3 separate regions of the Homo sapiens genome follow, and all the other regions are linked to region 1. The links are contacts of gene promoters, found by promoter capture Hi-C in human tissues and cell types (Jung and others, 2019). All regions are on one chromosome and are shown on one strand. Each heading gives the region's core, a stretch centred on a gene start or on the middle of the fragment in contact. The rest is flanking DNA. Distances are from core to core; before and after follow the strand shown.

Region 1 (4,693 bases), core at 289-2,788:
AAGGTGTTAGAAATCCCAGCTTTGAGGACAGTTTGCTGTGGTGGGAAACTGAGTTAACGAAGGGAATTGGGAAGCCACCAAGATAAAGGAAAGGAAGGTAAAAGTGGGTACCCACTCTGTACCAGGCATTTTACACATATGACTTCATTTGATCTTACAATTCCATGTGGTTGGTACTACTGTTTTATTACCACTTTCTAGCTGAAGCTCACAGACTGCAGGAGACAAAGCTAGATGTGAACCCAGGCAATCTGACTTGAGAACCTAAATTCTCATTAAACCACCTGCATTCCAAAGGGGAAGAGCATTAAGGGCTGAATTAAGCCAATGGGCTGGGAAAGCAAACACTCAAAGAAGCCTGGGTCCATCTAGACAGTTCTACCAAGGCAAGAGCACATAAGACCTATCTTCAAACCTCTGGTATTCAAACTACCATCTGCAGGTATTGAGGACCTCTGAGAATAATAGCCAGGTAGATTACCTGACTCGATATGTATAGAGGATTTTAGCTCACTCTGACTCTTACTAGCTGGGGGACCCTAGGCAAGTCACTTGACTTCTCTAGCTCTTAGTTGTTTAATGTATCACTATGCCTGCCACAGTTCACTTGCTAGCAGATAGGCTTGGGTACATCCAGCTTTGGGATCTGAGACCCGGCCCCCTCCCCTGGTTACCATGCCGCTCAGCCTCTGAGCTCACGGGGATGCCATCTTTATCTAGTCGTTGCTTGAACAGGTTGTGTTCCACATCCAGCTGCTGTTCTCCGGCCACATCCATGGCATCAATACTCAGATCTGGAAGCAGGAAAATCAGGCTAAGGTACTGGGACCCTAGGGACAAGGGGATGTGGGTTTTGGAGGGGAAGGGGATACTGGGCCTGTCTTGGGGCAGAACGGGATGAGGAGAAGGAGGTTGTCCTGGGGTCCAGTCCAGAACCTAAGGGTGGAGGTGTGAATCTGGCAGCCCACATGAGAACCCTGGGTCTCTCCAGTCCCACCCATGGTGAGGTACTCACAGGCACAAGGCATGTGCGGAAAAAGTACATCGATGTTGATCTTCAGTTTATCTCCCCGCGACTTGTCCACGTAGAGCTCAGGATGCACCTGGGGCAGCGCTACCTCAGTAAGACTTAGCCCCAAACCTCTCCTTCCCCACTCCCACCCCTAAAGGTCCTACTCCTAGAATGCCAAGCCCCGCCCACGCACTAAGCCCCGCCCCTTACCTCCGTGGTGAGGTAATACTGCAGCTCGGACAGGAACAGTAGCAGCATGAGAAGGCCACTGACAATGGTCACTGCAGGACAAGGGGCGAGGGTCAGAATGGCCTCGAATCCGCTCCCTCAGACACCGGCAGGCCAGTCAGAGTCCAGGAGCCCGGGCTAAGCTCTAGGACGCCCCCCTCCACGCGACCCCGGCCCCGCTGCGGCCTACCGGTGGCGCCCCCGCAGGTCTTGACCCGGAAGTCCTCCAAAGTCTTGGGGTAGGCATCGAACTGCTTCAGCTTCCCCAGCGCCTCCATGGGGACCGGCCGGAAAGGGGACGCCAGCCGGCCCGCCCCTACAGACTCCCTCTTCCGGCCTGGAGCCACGCCCCCCTCTTTTTCCTCACGCAGGCGCAGCAAACCGCACGCTTGGCCCCACCTTTAGCCGCGTTCTCTTACAGGCGGCCCCGCCCAACGATGCTGCCACGCCCCCTTGCGCGGGCAATTGGGTCTGGAAGCTACTGCCCCGGCCTCCGCTGTCCGGGGCGGGATTTTGAGGACTGGGGTGCGAGGAGTTCTCTGCGGGGTTAGAAACGCTAATAGCACCGTTCGTGTGCCTTGTGCTCGGAACTGCACCAGGTGTTTAAGACTCTTGGAACATCTTGGAATATCCTGGAACAGTGGTTTTTCGAGTGTACCGGACCGGCCGCATCATTATCAACTGATTACCTATTAGAAATGCAAATAATTGATTCCCACCTACTGAAGCCGAAACGCTAGGAATGGCATCGGATGATTCTGATGTAAAGTAAGGGTGTCCGCCCTGAAAGCAGGTGTGACTTATCTCCGTTTTCCAAAGAGCAAACTGTGACCTGGAGAAGTTAAATAACTTGCCCAAGATCACAGCCAATTAATAGCAGGACCTGCTTCCAGCCCAGTTCTTCTGGACCTCAAAGTACTCTGGGAATCAGGGTCTTTTGGGTTGATTTTACCTAAACAGCGTCCCAGTGCTTCTCCTGAGCGCTGCTTTCTGAATATTACCCTAAATTGCTCTCCAGGCCCTGGGATCCTCACGGACACGCTCTATCCCTCCAGGTTTAGACTCAAGTGATATGGAGCTTAAGCTCTCCCTGACACTTCCCATTGCAGCCCAGTGTCTCTAGAGGGACAGCTCCCACAGTAATGCAGCTGCAATGAGTAAGATATAAAAGCTCATAGGCTTTCATACAGGAATTCCACTTTAGGAAGTAAAAGCACCATGTCAAGGTTAATAGAAAAATTTTGAAAAAGAAAAAATATGTAAGCAGCTATCCAAGGTTAACAGAAAAAAATTTTAATATAAGGATAAAAGTACCATGATCTGGGTGGTTGTTACACCTTAAGATATTGAATCTGTCTCTTAAAGATTTTAAGTGCACCACATCATAAAGATGTATGCATGAGATTGTTCAATGGCAAAAATCTGGAACCAGCCAGAATGCCCACTGATACATTAAATAAATTGAATAAATCACGATACACCCATTCTATGGAATATTAGGCCACTTTTCAAAAGAATGAGGTAGATTTACTCCTTTAGGTATACTAAGAATGTATTTTTAAGGGGGAAAAGATGCAAAGTAATGTGCATTCCATCATTCCATTTTTTAATTAAAAATTGGGCTGGGCACAATGGCTCACACCTGTAATCACAGCACTTTGGGAGACCGAGGAGGATCACATGAGGCCAGGAGTCTAAGACCAGCCTGGGCAACACAGCAAGACCCCACTCTACAAAAACTTTAAAAACTACATCTGTAACCCTAGCACTTCAGGAGGCCGAGCCAGGAAGCATCACTTGAGTTCAGGAGTTTGAGACCAGCCTGGTCAACATGGTGAAACCCCATCTCTACTAAAAATACAAAAATTAGCCAGGCGTGGTAGTGTGCTCCTGTAAACCCAGCTACTTGTGAGTCCGAGGCAGGAGAATCGCTTGAACCTGGGAGGCGGAGGTTGCAGTGAGCCGAGATCATGCCATTGCATTCCAGCCTGGGCGACAGAGTGAGATTCTGTCTCCAAAAATAAAAATAAAAATAAAAAAATTAGCCAGGTGTGGTGGCATGCGTCTATAGTCTCAGCTACCTGGGAGGCTGGGGTTGAGCCCAGGAGAGTTTGAAACTGCAGTTGTTACCAGGTTACCTGCAGTTGTTACCAGCATAGAGTTGTCCAGGTTCTTGGCGTGTTGAACAAAACACATAAAGTAACAGAAGGGCAACGAAAGACAAACAGCAACAGAAGAACGGAATAACAAAAGCATAGATTTATTGAAGACGATTCATAGCGGCAGCTGGTTAGAGCAAGCTGCTCAAGAGCCTCCTCAATCAGGGTTTGTATTAAGCTAAAGGGACCTGGCAACACCCCTAGGTGCCCTTTAGAAGCCTCCAGTTGGCTACACCTATGAAGGATTGGCCTGCGACCAAATCAGAGGCTGAAGTGGAGACTTGGCCCACAGCCAATCAGAGGCTGAAGTGGAGATTTGGCCCCACGGTCAATCGGAGGCGGAAGTGGAAACTTCTGTCTCGTTATCATAGGATTGAAGATGTGGCCTGTATGCTGCCTAGAACTGGCTGCACCCCTTCATTTGCTTATGTCTTAACCCCCGGTTACCCTGATTCCCTGTTCTCCTGCCTCATAGTGAGCTGTGATTACACCACTGCACTACAGCCTGGGCGACAGAGCGAGTCTCTCTCTCTCTCTTTGTGTGTGTGCATATATATATATATAATATATATAAACTGTTATATATATTATATATATAAACTTATATATATTATATATATAAACTGTTATATATTTTATATATATAAACTGTTATATATATTATATATATAAACTGTTATATATATTATATATATAAACTGTTATATATATTATATATATAAACTGTTATATATATTATATATAAACATATATATAAACTTATATATATTATATATAAACTTATATATATTATATATATAAACTGTTATATATAAACTTATATATATTATATATAAACTGTTATATATAAACTGTTATATATAATATATAAACTTATATATTATATATATAAACTGTTATATATATTATATATATAAACTGTTATATATATTATATATATAAACTGTTATATATATATATATAAACTGTTATATATATTATATATATAAACTGTTATATATATATATAAACTGTTATATATATTATATATGTAGTTATATATAAATTGTTATATATGTAAAACATAGGCCGGGCGCTGTGGCTCACGCCTGTAATCCCAGCACTTTGGGAGGCCGAGGCGGGCGGATCACGAGGTCAGGAGATCAAGACCATCCTGGCTAACATGGTGAAACCCTGTCTCTACTAAAAATACAAAAAATTAGCCGGGCGTAGTAGCGGGCGCCTGTAGTCCCAGCTACTCGGGAGGCTGAGGCAGGAGAATGGCGTGAACCTGGGAGGTGGAGCTTGCAGTGAG
Region 2 (4,175 bases), core at 1,443-3,942, 220 kb after region 1:
TTTGGTTGTTTGTACTCTCAGAAGCAAGAGTCAGATTAGCTAAGCTTCAGCTATGTGCCCATCTCTGTGATGAGAGGACAGCATTCTAGGATCAACAGCCTGCCAACTCGTGGAAATGGGAAAGAGTAGGTCCTGAACATAAGGAAGAAATGCAGAGAGAGAAACCTCAGTGTCACAGTACTTCTAAGATCTACTGACCCATTGAGGCAGATGATGGAGGCAACCTGACCAATCCATGGAATAGCCTCTGGGTGTTTCTCTTGGCCATAGAATCTTGAACGCCCTGGCCTGTGACCAGTGCCAACCCATTGTAACCATATATATCTGACATTCTTTCTTGAAACCTCTCTGGTTTCTCCATGTTCATTCTTAAGTACGGTTGGTAAGACAAAGACTTTTGACTATTAAAATAAATGAGGGGAGAAAACTTTTTGACCTTTGCATATGGCTTTTCCTTTAATATAGATAATAATAATTACCTTTTCATATTTCTGATTTATCTGTTCATGAGAAAGATTTGCTCTGGGATGCTATTACATCTACTTGGTCAGACCCTTGCTTCATCCTGTTATTTTTTTATTTTGATATAGACATAATACTGTGCATTTGACCTTGTCGAATCTCATCTTCTTTTTAAGGACAGTTTTTCTAAATTTAAAAAGAGTCTATTTTACTCTTGCTTTCCAAAGTGCAGAAATGAGCAATTTTAGCTTTGTGCTTGTGTGATTCTTCCATTTCTCATATGACTCATCAGAAGCAGAAAGGTGTGATCGCTTAGAAAAGACAGTAGATTGGGGCCGGGCGCGGTGGCTCACGCCTGCAATCCCAGCACTTTGGGAGGCTGAGGCAGGCGGATCACAAGGTCAGGAGGTCAAGACCATGCTGGCTAACACGGTGAAACCCCGTCTCTACTAAAAATACAAAAAATTAGCCGGGCATGGTGGTAGGCGCCTGTAGTCCCAGCTACTCAGGAGGCTGAGGCAGGAGAATGGCGTGAACCCGGGAGGCGGAGCTTGCAGTGAGCCGAGATGGTCCCACTGCACTCCAGCCTGGGTGACAGAGCAAGACTCCGTCTCAAAAAAAAGAAAAGACAGTAGATTTAGAGACTGACCATCTGAGTTAAAAGTCCCAGCACTGTCACTTACAAGCAGGATGTGATTTGACTACAAGTGACTTAACGTTTTTGTTTTTGTTTTTGTTTTTGTTTTTTGAGACAGAGTCTTGCTCAGTTGCCAGGCTGGAGTGCAGTGGCACAATCTTGGCTCACTGCAACTTCTGCCTCTCGGGTTCAATGGTTCCCCCGCCTCAGCCTCCTGAGTAGCTGGGACTACAGGTATGCGCCACTATGCCCAGCTAATTTTTTGTATTTTAGTAGACATGGGGTTTCACTATGTTGGCCAGGCTGGTCTCGAACTCCCGACCTCAGGTTATCGGCCCACCTCAGCCTCCCAGAGTGCTGAGATTACAGGCGTGAGCCACCGCACCTGGCCACTTAACAGTTTTGAGCTTCTGTTTCCTTGTTTATAGAATCAGGACAACAATAGCATTTTGGCTGTGAGCTCCTCGAGGGCAGGGTTGTGGTTGTGAGGCACAAATAAGATAATAAAATGAAAATATTATTAAATGCATTGTGTAATCATTGTTACGACCATCACTGTCATCATTATTATCAGTACGGATTTTAGATAGTACCCAGGATTATTTCCTTTAGGACTCCGCACCATCAGTGCTGTTGTTGAAACTGCGACTCTTTCAAGCCAGGTGTTGGCTTCTCTAATGAGTATGCATGAGACTTGTCATGTGGAATACTACAAAAAGCTTCCAGAAACCAAAGTAGATTATAGCTATAATGTTCCCCTTATTCAAATGCCCTAAAAGAGACGAAAGTTAAATTGCCATGGTAGTTTGATCATCCCAGAACCGTAGTGTACCTCATCAGCTCCTTTTGAAGATGATTGTGGACTTAATATTATGTGTTCTCATGTTTTCTCAACTGGACAAATGACTAGAATTTCTGAGGACATACATCTCTTCTCTCTTGGCTATTTTCCAAGCCTGAGGGAAGGACTCCTGTACTTCGTGACTATATAGAAATTAGGGCTGCTGGTTCTGCAATTCTGTCTGCCAACCATGTCCCTTGTTTTTCAGCACATTATCAGGCTATGCAGTCTTGAACATGTAGATCCCAAGCAGCAAAACTAGAATTTTCAAAATAAATAAGAAAGGGGTTTGTATTATTATTACTATGTTGTAGAGACAGGACCTCACTTTTTTGTCCAGGCTAGTCTTGAACTCCTGGCCTCAAGTGATCCACCTGCCTTGGCCTCACAAAGCATGGGGATTATACACGTAAGCCACCTTGCCCAGCCAATAAGGGAATATTTTTAAACAGCATGTCATCATAGCAAGCTTCCCTTGTACATTAAAAGTTTGAAATGTTTAAAATGGATTTTAAAATGGACCTCCTCATGCTGGGTTTAGGTTGGCCTTTCATCGCAACGGGAACATACTCTATTTAAATGTTCACATTATTTTCTAAAAAGAGAAAAAGAAATTGTCTTTCATTTAAAATATTTTTCTTTTTATTCTTGGTATTAACAACTTTTTCTGGAACTGCTCAATATGCATGCGTGCCTGAGCGTGCGCGCGCGCGCGCGCACACACACACACACACACACACACACACACAGTTTTGTTTGTATTTTGTCATCATTGCTAAAAGACCCTCAATAGATCTTTCAGTCGTAATGCATGTGAGTTAACAGGTAGACTTTTTTATTTGGTCTCTCCATGTCCCCCGTCTCTCTTGTCTGTCTACTCTTACTCTGTTTCTAAGTATCTCACAAAATATTCCACAGTGGGCTAATTTCTAACCTGAACTTTAAATAGGCTAGCTGATGTTCAGTGCACATCAGCCTGTTGCCGCACAATGACTGTAGAACATGGCGTTGGCACTGCAAAGCATTGGTGGTGGCATTACTGTCTACTACAGCAAACTAAAACATGACCTACAATCTTGTGTTGCATTGTTGCCTTATGATGAATTTGATATAGTCCTTAGGCTTCAGCCAGCAACTCTAGCTGTCCTTTGTCATTCATTCATTCCAGCAAATTCTTAGTCTGCTACTGTTAGCAACTTTGCTTCAAGCCAGTAACCTTAAAGCTTATTCTCACCTTCATGCTCATCAGTGTTTTCCATACCAACTTTCTTCTGTTTTCCCATTCCCCCACCATAATTACACCCACTCTCAACCTCAGGTTTTCCCAGGAGTGGAGCTTGGCTCTACTAGGGATATCTGATGTATTAGTAACCGGCCACTGATGACCCATCTGGTGGCTGTCTCTAGCTGCCACTGGAACTGGAATCTCTGAGTTGTGTTTACTCAAGACCACATTAGCATTTCTTAGTTCTGCCTCTGCAGATAGCCTGAGCTGTGGGGCACAGGAAGGGGCAGCTACATTCCTTCCAGTGTCTATTCCAACACAGGTAGGCAATGGAGTTGGATTGCTCTGTATTCTTATCTTGACCCCACTATTTCCTAGCTGTCTAGCTTTAACTTTCCCAAACATCAGATTCCTCTTCTCTAAAGTGGAGACAGTAACAGTTCCTGTCTCTTAGAGTCCTTGGGAAGGTTTAAGTGGGCTAATGTGTAAAGTTGTAGCACAGTTATTGGCACTTGGTAAATAATGAATGATGGGACCCGTCTCCAGACTTGAATCACTTTGGGGCACCTGTAGATGGGGGAGAGGGCAGACTTAGTAGAGAAAATATGTGTGCTAAGTCTTAGAGGATAAGGAGTTAGCATCCCTTCCATCAGTGGATAAAGAAGAGAAGAATTCCTGGCAGCAGTATGACTAAGAAATAGATGACAGCATGATGTATCTGTGCACATACTTTACTGACTGCAGGGTGAAGTAAGATGGGGAGGCAAGAGGAGGGGAGGCAAAAAAGATGGCCAAGAGCAGATCACTAGAAGCCTTGTAGAGTCCATGGAGGAGTTAAAACTTGATCTCCCATCAGTCCCTGTATCCACATAGTCTGGTTCCTCTGTTAAGCAGTCACATAAATATCTTTAAGGCAGCAACAGTGAAAAGGGGAAAGAGAGCAGCGAATTGGCCTCAAATGAACTGGCATCTCTTTAAAGCTAATATTCCTCCTTGAGAATGCTACTTTA
Region 3 (4,683 bases), core at 1,874-4,373, 250 kb after region 1:
GCTACATACATGCAATGGGATGTTATTCAGCCTAAAGTGGAAGGAGATTCCGACATACGCTACAATGTGAAGGAACTTGAAGACATGAAGCTACGTGAAATGAGCCAGTCACAAAAGGACAAAACCGTATGATTCCACTTAAATGAGATACCTAGAGGAGTCAAATTCATAGAGACAGGAAGCAGAATAGTGGGCGCCAGGGGCTGGGGGAGGGGGAAATGGGGAATTCGTGTTTAGTGGGTACAGAGCTCTAGTTTTGCAAAGTGAGAAGAGTTCTAGAGATGGATGGTGGTGAGGGTTACACCACAGTGTGAATGCACTTACGACACTTAAAGCGTACCACTTAAAAATGGTTACAATAGCAGATTTTGGCTTGGTGCAGTGGCTCACACCTGTAATCTCAACACTTTGGGAGGCGGAGGCAAGAGCATCGCTTGAGGCCAGGAGTTTGAGAGTAACCTGGGCAACAGAGCAAGACTCCATCTCTAATTCTTTTTTTTTTTTTTTTGAGATGAAGTCTCGCTCTGTCACCCAGGCTGGAGTGCAGTGGCGTAATCTCAGCTCACCTCAACCTCTGCCTCCCAGGTTCAAGCGATTCTCCTGCCTCAGCCTCCCAAGTAGCTGGGATTATGGGCGCCTGCCACCACAGCCACCTACTTTTTGTATTTTTATTAGAGATGGATGGGGTTTCACCATGTTGGTCAGTCTGGTCTTGAACTCCCAACCTCAGGTGATCCGCCCACCTCGGCCTCCCAAAGGGCTGGGATTATAGGCATGAGCCACAGCGTCTGGCCACGAATTATTTTTTAAAGGCAAATTTTATGCGTATTTTACCACAATTAAAAGATACAGAGCCAAAGATATGTACCTGAAGTAGATGTATACACACTGCAAGATAAACAAAACTAACTCAGTGACACGCAAACATGCCTCCCTCCCTCCCGGGAGCACTTCTACCACCCAGATAAGACCCTGGTTGGTCCTCCCCTTCAAACAAATCTGGAGATAAGGCCCTAATGATGGCCCTGCCACCTCGGCTGCCCCCACAGCTCATCACCCTCCCACGGTCTGGCTTTGTTTACTCAACCTTCTGCCCCTCTTGCAGCCTCCTCACCCCCATGGAAGGGCCTCCTTGGAGTGCCCGGTGCTCCTGCACCTGGGATGGGATGGAGTAGGCCATAACTCCTGACCTGTGGCTCCCCCATGCTCCCCCAGGCCCTTCACTTATAGGGTCCTTGAAGACACAGCCCTAGCCCCATTCACCTTTGGTCCTAGGGCTCAGCTCAACTCCGGAACCTCTAAATCCCACCCAGCTCCCTCCCACTATATGTGTGTCAAGTTCTTTGGACACAGAAGACCCTGTGTTCCGGACATGATCGCAGACCAGATAAACCAAGTGCGCTTAGTGCTAAACAGGCTGCGAGGCACGGCTTTAGGTCTTCTGCGCTTCCCGCCATCCTCGCTGGACCTCATGCCTCCGTGGAAAGGTGGTGACCGCTTCTGCCTAGCCTGGCTCCCCAGCTGCAGCTGTCACCTGCTCACCCCCTTCCCCAGAGCAAAGCTGCTCACCATCCTCCGAAGGACACACGGTACATGCTCCAGGACTTTAATCTTTGTTGGGGCAGAGGTCAGAAATCTACCTGCCCTGTTTGCCTCCTGACCTTGCAGTGTGTCCGCCCATTCTCTGAAACAACCTTCCAACCATTTTCATACTCAGCCCTGGAGGAGGGGAAGAAGGCTGGGGTCTGGCCACCACCAGGCCAAGAACATCCCTGGAGTTAAGGGTGTTGCAAGCACAGCCATCTGGAACAGCATGTCTCAGGGGTGGGCCTTAGCCCACTGCCCACAGTGCACTGGGCACTTGTTTAAAAACTCAGGAATTTGAGGTTACAGTAAGCTATGATCACATCACTGCTCTCTCTAGCCTGGGTGACAGAGCAAGATCATGTCTCAATTAAAAAAGAAAAATGGCCAGGTGTGGCGGCTCACACCTGTAATCCCAGCACTTTGGGAGGCTGAGACAGGAGGATTGCTTGAGGCCAGGAGTTCAAGATCAGCCTGGGCAACATAGTGAGATCCCATCTCTAAAAAAATTTTAAAAGTAGCCGAGCATGGTAACATGCACCTGTAATCCCAGCTACTCAGGAGGCTGAGGTGGGAAGATCGCTCGAGTCCAGAGAAACTGAGGCACAGCTGTAGTGAGCTGTGATTGCGCCACTGCCCTCCAGACTGGGTGACAGAGCAAGACCCTATCTCAAAAAGAAAAAGAAAAAAGACAAGCTCCAGAAGCCTACGGACACCTTCTGGATGAGAATTTCCAGGAGGGTGGGGCCCGGGGATCTGCATTTCATCACCTCTCACCACCCCTGGGGTCAGGGTGAGAGCCACTGCTCTAGGTTCTTGAAGGACAGCTCCGAGCCGGGGTGGGAGAGAGCCAGGGGGCTGTGAGCACCACAGTTAAGATGATGGAGAGTGGCAGGACGATTATGGGAGCAAAAAGAGGGCTGGCTGGGGGACAGACCAGCGTTGATGTCCTTGGATATTCCATGTGACAGTCGTTCAGCTCTCAGGGCCTTGCAGACTTGAGCCAGGGCACGTGCTATCCACTGTGGTATGTGTTGTGGGGGTCATGGCCGGTCTCTACATCGGCGTTTGGGTGAAGAGTTTATGCAAGTGGATGTGATTACAATGTGTGGTCGGTCTGTGTCAGCCCACACTCCATGTCTGTGTATCGGTCAGTTGTCAGTGTGTCCATCTGCATGGGTGTTCATGTCTTTTCCTGGGTGTCTTGAGTCGCTCACCCACCTGCAGTGTGTGTGCGTGTGCGTGTGAGTGTGTGTTCCTGAGTCGCCTGGGCCCCTCTTGGCTGTAATTCAACCTCTGTGGGTCCCGGGAAGTCAGCATTTGGAGACTTGCTGGGAGCCTGGTGGGGATGGGGCGGCGTTGCTGGGAGGAAGAGAGGGAGGCAGGAGTGTGCACCGAGGGCCTGGCACTGCCGCTTCCCTGGGCAGGCGAGTCCCAACACAGGCAGACAGGTGGGGCTGACCTGACAGGTTCCAGAGGCCAGGGGCAATAGGGTGGAGCGTGGCTCTGATTTAGGGTGGCAACAGTTTGGGGGCCCTGCCACACACACAGCGAGCGGGCGGGCAGAAGGCGGTTCTGCTGGTCTCCTCTTCCTGCTGCAGCCAGCCCAGCGTGCGGGCCATGGGCCCTGCCGGCGGGTGAGGCAGCCGCGTGGCAGGCATGTTCGGAGGCCCGGGGCCTGGGGTCCTGGGAGCCCAGGGCATGGCGGGACCCCTGCGGGGCCGGGTGGAAGAGCTGAAGCTGCCGTGGTGGCGGGAGAGCTCACCGCTGGTGCTGCGGCACAGCGAGGCGGCTCGGCTGGCGGCCGACGCCCTCCTGGAGCGGGGTGAGGCTGCCTACCTGCGGGTCATCTCCGAGGAGCGGGAGCTGCCCTTCCTGAGCGCCCTGGATGTGGACTACATGACCAGCCATGTGCGCGGGGGCCCTGAGCTCAGCGAGGCTCAGGGGCAGGAGGCCTCCGGGCCAGACCGCCTCAGCCTGCTCTCTGAAGTCACCTCAGGGACTTACTTCCCCATGGCCTCTGACATAGACCCCCCAGACCTGGACCTGGGCTGGCCCGAGGTGCCACAGGCCACAGGCTTCAGCCCCACCCAGGCTGTGGTCCACTTCCAGAGGGACAAGGCCAAGAACATCAAGGACCTGCTGCGCTTCCTTTTCAGCCAGGCCCACACGGTAAGGGCCTCATCTCTCCATCACTCATCTCACAGAGGAGGAAACTGAGGTCCAGAGAGGGAAGGGACCAGCCCAAGGCCACACAGCGACTTAGGGGCAGAATGAGGACCAGCACCTCTGGCACTATTAGATTGCAAACTCCTAGAAGGGGGACATCCCATATTTACCTTGGCAACTGCTTGGTACCCAGGAATAGTATGGATGAGCATAGAACAGGGCATGGGTGTCAGGGACTCCACAATCCCCTGAAATGCACACGAAGTGGTGCAGGTTGGAGGGAGGAGTCCTCGCTGCATCTTTACCTTGGAAGATGCTCCACTGCCTTAAATCAGATTCTCAAAAAGTTTTATGATCCCCACACTAAGAACTCCAACCTTGGGGAACATCTGAGTCACCTCCTTCACTTATAGAAGAAGAAACTGAGGCCAGAGAGGGGCTTGGGACTTGCCCAGGGAGGTCCATATGGTGACATAGAGCTCAGGGCTTGGGGAGACAGGGGCTCTCTGACTTGGGTCCTGGGGACCAGTCCGGCCCTCCTTGCTGGCTCAGGTCCCTAGTTGCCCCCTACCCTCCTGCACCACATCTGCAGCTGGGCCTGAAGCAGGGGAAGGGGCCAGCGTGTGGGCCTCTTTGGCGTGGCCTTGAGGGCTGGGCTTTGGAACCAAGGAGGAAGGAGGAGAGGAGGCTGCTGGGCTCAGTGATGGGGAGCGGGAGCTCAGGAGAAAGAGAATTGGGAGGGCAGGTAGGGGTGGTCAGCACCCAGAAAGGCTCTGGCCACACACGAGCACAGCTTCCCTTCTGAAGCCCTGGCCTCCGACTCCAGGGGAATGGACGAGATGATCCCTGGCAGGGTTTGAGGGAGAGTTAGGCTCCTGCTGCAGAGATGGGAAGCCAGGATGCTGGGATCCCACCGGTACTTCCAGAGCC

Evidence for each region. Contacts are between HindIII fragments. The study calls those that stand out against the background at their distance.
Region 2: a fragment that was not itself captured here is called in contact with the fragment with the promoter of ERGIC3 in region 1 in 2 of the 25 tissues and cell types used here (dorsolateral prefrontal cortex and spleen).
Region 3: a contact is called between the fragment with the promoter of FAM83C here and the fragment with the promoter of ERGIC3 in region 1, in 1 of the 25 tissues and cell types used here (mesenchymal stem cells).

What each region holds. Positions count from the first base shown.
Region 1 is chr20:35,538,923-35,543,615 of GRCh38, reverse strand. ERGIC3 (ERGIC and golgi 3) reads right to left here and starts at 1,538. Exons shown (of 13, transcript NM_015966.3): 1 at 1,431-1,538; 2 at 1,223-1,293; 3 at 1,016-1,103; 4 at 675-794. The coding sequence starts at 1,518. RefSeq lists an enhancer at 1,777-1,866. The HindIII fragment of the contact is 35,337 bases long and covers 1-4,693 here.
Region 2 is chr20:35,319,767-35,323,941 of GRCh38, reverse strand. The region is part of intron 7 of UQCC1 (ubiquinol-cytochrome c reductase complex assembly factor 1); the gene reads left to right. Among named protein-coding and RNA genes, the nearest start is that of FAM83C, 29 kb to the right of the region's middle. The HindIII fragment of the contact is 3,522 bases long and covers 932-4,175 here.
Region 3 is chr20:35,290,865-35,295,547 of GRCh38, reverse strand. FAM83C (family with sequence similarity 83 member C) reads left to right here and starts at 3,123. Exons shown (of 4, transcript NM_178468.6): 1 at 3,123-3,756. The coding sequence starts at 3,244. The HindIII fragment of the contact is 12,597 bases long and covers 1-4,683 here.